2 separate regions of the Homo sapiens genome follow, and region 2 is linked to region 1. The links are contacts of gene promoters, found by promoter capture Hi-C in blood cells and fetal thymus (Javierre and others, 2016). All regions are on one chromosome and are shown on one strand. Each heading gives the region's core, a stretch centred on a gene start or on the middle of the fragment in contact. The rest is flanking DNA. Distances are from core to core; before and after follow the strand shown. Region 1 holds the start of EHBP1-AS1 (EHBP1 antisense RNA 1). Region 2 overlaps WDPCP (WD repeat containing planar cell polarity effector).

Region 1 (2,998 bases), core at 330-2,829:
GTGTGTATGAAATGAGGGAAAGAGAACTTTTAACAAGAAGTTCTAGGCTACAGAAAAAAAAAAAAAGCGATTCTATGCTAGTTTCCTTCATTCCCCCACAGGGGTGTCCAAACAAAGAAAGCTTGTTCAACAAGTCCAGAAACTTAGAGAAAAAAGTCCACTAGCATTTATACTTCAGCGTAGATCGTATGTATGTGCACACAAACAAATTTCGTTCCAAGTATGCAGCCACCTCCAGTTGCCAGTCTTTCAAAATGATAAAAACTTGCTACGGTAGAATTCCTTCATGATGAGCATTTCTTTTAAGTTATTGAAAAGTTATTTTAAGTAAATGAAGTCGGTATTTGCCCTCTTTATTCGAGCACGAGAGCAGAGAGAGAGCTGCTGCTCTCTGGGGAACGCTCTCAGAATCCCGTTCTAACCCCGGGAAAACTCAGCAGACAGAAATCGCCCGCCCCAAGCAGCCTGGGGCCTGGGCGGCCAACAGCACCCACCCAGTTTACGCTTGATTCGAGGAACCTTCACTCCCGAGGGGCCTCGCCGAAAAGCAGCTCCTTCGCTCCCGAAGCCGCTCCCAATCGGCCAACTGACAACCCTTCCCTCGCCCCAGATTTGCTAGGATGGTCTGGGACCGCCGGGCGGCCCCTCTACCTGCCCCTTCAGCTTTAGTCCCGAGCCTCTCGGGGTTTCAATTTGGGCTGCTCGGTGGCGCCCGAACGCCCCTCAGCGGCGGTGGAGCGTGGACTCCGGCGCCTGGCGGGGTAAGGCCCGCGGCAAGGGCGCTGCATCCGGACATCGCTGCGTGGTGCCCAGACGCTGGCTCCCGAGAACGGGCACGAGCCCAGCACGCCGGAGGACCCGGAACTCGAAAGCCCGCGCTGCGGGAAAAGAGACTATCGGTCCGAGGGTCGCAGAGGAGCAGGGGCGTTGGCAGCGGGCTTGCTTGGGCACAGTCTGCGGGCCGGAGCAGAACTTCCGCCCCTGGTCAGATCCCTCGGCCTCAGATCCAAAGCCCTCCCCTTGTCCCAAGTGTCCTCCAGAGCCTGGCCGGGCCTGGAGGTCACCTGGATGCTGGATCCTTGTCTCCACACCCAGCTCCCTCGCCCCTTCCCGGCTCGAGGGCCTTGAGCTGGACGGCTTCACCTCCTCCAGTGGTGTCCCCACTTCCCCTTCCCGCACCGCGGCCGATGCTGGAACGGTCATGGCTTCTGGCCCAGCATCTCCCACCTGGACATTTGCCTAGCGACGGCCGCCTCAATCCTCTGCGCTGCTTTCAAGAAACTTTCATCCCAGTCTCTCTCCCTCTCCACTCTCCTCCCTCTCCCCCTCTCCTCTTTCTTTTCTTAATCCTGGGGTTTTATGGGCTGAGCGTTAAGAAAATTCGCCTGCAATTTGGGATTAGATAAATACTCTAATTAGGAAAAAAAAAATCCGTGCTACTTGATACCTCCCAACTTCCCCGAGAATGGTGGCAGCATCTGGAACCGAGAGCGCCGGCCTCCCGCGAGGCGTACCCCGGGGACCGCGCTGGCACATTCCAGAGCGCACTGCCGTCCCACCTCGCTGCGCCGGACCCAGGTCAGGTGCTGAGGCTGCAGGCGAAACAGGGCCTGGTGGAGGGAGGAATGAGTTAAGGTGGAGGAATGGGGCAAGGTCACGCGCCCCGGCACTGGAGGGCCAACCCCGGCACACAGCGGACTGGCCGGGACTAGGGCAGCGCCGGGCTATGGACGCGGACGCCGGCGAAGCGCACCCCGGGACGTCCGCATATTCTTTCCCCCAAAACTAGTGCGCTCCAGCCGGCGCCTTTCCTCGGAACCTAAGGAAGGGGTATATTTCGTTGCTTTCTTTAAACCTCAGCACGATCACAGTGGCTCCGAGCCGCGGGCGGCTGACCGCGGGCCTCGCGGGCTACTCCTGGTAGGGGCCTGCGCGAGCCTAAGGTGTGTCCCCGCCTGGGTTAGCGCTGCGCTCTGCACTGTTTCTTTTCCTCTTAAAGCTTCTTTCTCACTCACTCTCTCCCTCCTTCTCTCTCTCATTTTTTCCCCATTTCTCTCGTTCTTTTATTCAGCTTTCTCTCTTTCTCTCCCTTTTGTGAATGGGCCGCGGTGTCTTTGTTCTGTAGAGAAGCGCCCGTGTCGCTGACTTTTGTGAACCAGAGAAGGATCTTGTAAAACCTCCTTTTCTCCTTCGTACGCCCCCACTCCCACCCCTCCTCCCCTGCCTCTTTGATTAGATGTTCCCTCATCGTCAAAAAAAAAATGTAATTTCGTTGGTCTGGCGGCCACTTTCTTTGAACATTAGCTCGCTTTCAGCTCCAACTTCAATTAGAAGGAGTTGATTTTGAGAGATCAACAAAAGAACCGACCAAAGCCTTATTAAAGGTCCTAAGAAGATCTCCCGGGTCCTTTGAGAAGCAGTTAAGGAAACAGTGTGCCCTCCATCATATTCTGTTACCGTATTTTATTCGGACTCCAAAGGAAAGTGTCGCTTGGGGGAGGGGGAAGCACTTTGATGAGCGGCGGCCGCGGCCCCTTTTCACTCAGCGGGCTCCCCCTTCGTTCTCCTCCTCCTCACCCAGCGCCCGGTCCGCTCTCGGCGCCCGACCCCGCAGCCCGGGCAGCGCGAGTGCTCCCCACTGCGATGCGCCTGGAGGCTCCTTGACTTGCCCTCACACTTAATCCTGTGCAAACTTTTTACCCCGCCTGTCGGGGTGGGGGAGTGGGGGAGATTAGAAACAAGGGGTAGAAATTCCTCGAAAGGGAATAAAGTGCCTAATTTTCAGGAGGAGGTGCCATTTAAAAGATTCGCCTAGCTTAGAGTTGGAACGAAAACTCTTTTTTGCACTTTTAAAAGTCCACCCAGGTAGACGTGTTTGGGAAGTTTTTTCGGGTGGGAAATGGGCTTCGCCCGTACGAACAATCCGGGGAAATCGCCTCAAGGAGGATCCTTACGCAGCATGTGGAAAAAAGTTGAGGGCAGGGGTCTGTGGCCACAT
Region 2 (2,998 bases), core at 211-2,710, 440 kb after region 1:
GGTCAGTATTTCATGGTTTAGAATATTTAGTTAATAAAAATTAATTGCACAGAATAGGTACTTTACCTGGTGGATCTTTCTTGTCATAATACTGGTAGATCCCAATGTCTCTATCTATAGAAAGGAAGAAATAACATTAAATTATGATTTAAAAGTCCCAGAGAATAAGAAGCCAAGCCATACTATATTAGGGGAAGGATAGGGAGAAAAGCAGAAACAGTCTCCTTATGCTACTAGAAATAAAATGGCTCAAAAGCATCCGGAGATGAGTTCGTCTATTCTAGGGATATGCAGAAACTGGAAAGTTTATCAATCTAATGAGAAAAGATTTACACAAAACTAGAATGGCATGAGAAAAAGATTAGTAAAGAACTGAAATCAAGAAACACCAAGTTTTCTCTTTCACACATCCTCTGATATTTTTCACAGGGTTCTACCAAAAGGAACTGCCACTAAGCAATGCCAGATGAAATCAGTGGATGGAAGAAAATGCCCTGTTGGATTCTGAGCTGTGGTTTTCTTTTCTCCAATTTAGCTCAAGAGTCTAGTTCCTATTCTACGGCATTTGGGAGAAATCCACAGACGAGAAAGGGAAGATTAGAGGAACGTTTGGATACATTATTATCTGAAACTTGTTTAGACAGGGAAAACCCCTTCTAAACCTAAATTCGGACACTTTGCTGGGGCTACCTAAGAAGCAAAGCTGGGCTTCCCAGATGTCAAGATTCATTTAACCAAGGAATTATTCCAGTTTAAATATAAGAGAACAAAATAATTTTGTCCATTTTCTTCATATCTATGAATAATAAAATATTTCTTTCATTGAAGGAACATTTGTTTTCTTCAATGCAAAATAATTCTCAGTTACTAACATAAGGATAAAGAGTATACAACTGTTTCTAAAGAGGTGGAAGCAGTACAGGCTGCCCCCTAGTGACTGACTGCTCCAGACTTTCTCAAACTGAATGATAAAACTTCAAAAAAAAGTATTACTGCTATAATTAACTTTTCAAATATAGTCTTTCAAAATAGTCAATTGCGTGTACTTGTTAAAGCTCTATTTTATTCATCATGCCATTAGTAGAGGCATACAATTTTAAAGAATGCAGTTTATGTCTACTGGTTAGACTGAATATATCTAATAAGGATTTATTGCGAAAAATCATGAGTAGGACTTCTTGGATACTGATATTTTATTTGTTGTCCTGGATGGTGATTTTATGGGTGTTTTCATATTCTGATGGTTCACAACATAATCTTATGATCTTTACACTTTTCAGTACATATATTATACTTCAATAAAAAGGCTTTTTTAAAAAATCTAAGAACCACAGGCACTACATATGCAGACAATATCTCCATTAAAATATTCCACCCTATAATTATACTCATCATTCCATACATCCAAATATATATCATAACTCTAGAATAGAACTATGAAGATCATAAAGAATCCTGAATTATGTGCACAAGTCTGACCTACTGCATCTGGCCCAGAGTGGAAACTGTCAAAACACAAGCAGAATAAGGAGAGCATCCAGTTAAGAAAACCTGCCCTACAGTGGGTACCAGAGCTGGATGGGGAAGGTGTCCATTCAGAGAGTCAGCCTGACATGGTGTGTTAGAACTCCAGCAGGGTAAGAACACTCACATGAAGCAACAGCCTGGTGTAGGGTATTAGAGGCTAAACAAGGTAAGGAGGACATTTACATATGGGGGCAACCCAACATGGTATATCAAATCCCACATGGGGTGAGAAGGGTATCTATACAGGGAAGGAGTAGCCACAGAGATAGGGGATTGACTGCAAACAGGGTGACTGATAAGTCAATAAATAAAAAATAGGGGAGCTCCAGGTTTCCCACTGTCTGAGAAGAAAAATACAAATATGGAAAGGGAGAAAATTAGAATGAACCCTATGGTGGTAGATAGGAATGAGATGTACCAATGTAAACTCATGGTTTCAATATAGAGAGATAGATACAGAAATAAATATGGATGTAAATATGTGTGTATACATAGATACATACATTCTGCAAGCTCTGTCCACTGAGAGGGCCTGGGAGCAGCAATGTTCCAATAATGAGTGCACCTAAAGCAGAACTTGGCTTCTAGAACCCTTGCCCTCTAAAAGGAACAAAGCTCCTTAGAAGAGTGACTGATTCCTAGGCTAGGGAAAGGAAATTACAACATGAGTCTGGAACATTTGTTGTACCAGAAAGAATTAAAGTGCTCAGATTTTGACAGGGACATGTCAAAAAGACACAGAAGCCAGCTTGAAGAGGGTCCCTCTGGCCACATCAGGGACAATTTAAACATCAAAATACATAATGAAATAAAATAATGATATGACTATAACAACTCCATAAAGTGGAAAACTTGAGTCCACAGAGATAAAATAAATTGATCATATATAATAATATATTTAAAGCATGAGGAACAGGATATTTACATAATTTCAAGGTATTTCCCTATGAAATACTTACTAATCACAAAGAAGAAAGTAACTTTGCAGTGGAGAAGCCGAGCAGACACTATCTTATCAGGTAATCATGAATATCATCAGGAAAGGGACAAATTGAAATTATGCACCACCTGATAGGATGCATTGAAATGCATAACCTGAATCTAATTGTGAGGAAATTTCAAATATAACCAAATTTACAATCATCCTACACAATAACTCACCTAATATCTTCAAAAATATTAAGGTCATGAAAATGTAAAAAAAAAAAAAAAGGCGGAGGATGAAGAATAACCCAGAATGAAGGACACTAAAGAAACATAACAATGCAATATGTTACTGTGAACAAAAATCCTTTTCCTAAAAAAAGAACAATGATGGGACAATTGGTAAACTGGTCCATTTAGACTGAAGTACATCATTGTTAATTTCCTGATTTCAATGGCTTATACAGTAATGCAGGACAAAATCCTTTTTGTAGGACATATACATGAATGTATTTGGAGGTGATAAAGCATCAGGCTACAACTCTCA

The links. Contacts are between HindIII fragments. The CHiCAGO score rates a contact against its expected background, and 5 or more counts as called.
Region 2: a fragment that was not itself captured here is called in contact with the fragment with the promoter of EHBP1-AS1 in region 1 in 1 of 17 cell types (megakaryocytes); the score reaches 6.1 in megakaryocytes.

What each region holds. Positions count from the first base shown.
Region 1 is chr2:63,046,942-63,049,939 of GRCh38, forward strand. EHBP1-AS1 (EHBP1 antisense RNA 1) reads right to left here and starts at 1,580. Exons shown (of 4, transcript NR_033389.1): 1 at 1,448-1,580. It also overlaps a transcript of OTX1 not described here. RefSeq lists enhancers at 892-1,640, 1,619-2,998, 1,641-2,390, 2,391-2,998. The HindIII fragment of the contact is 1,878 bases long and covers 120-1,997 here.
Region 2 is chr2:63,487,381-63,490,378 of GRCh38, forward strand. It overlaps WDPCP (WD repeat containing planar cell polarity effector), which reads right to left. Exons shown (of 18, transcript NM_015910.7): 3 at 67-114. Among named protein-coding and RNA genes, the nearest start is that of WDPCP, 100 kb to the right of the region's middle. The HindIII fragment of the contact is 4,613 bases long and covers 1-2,998 here.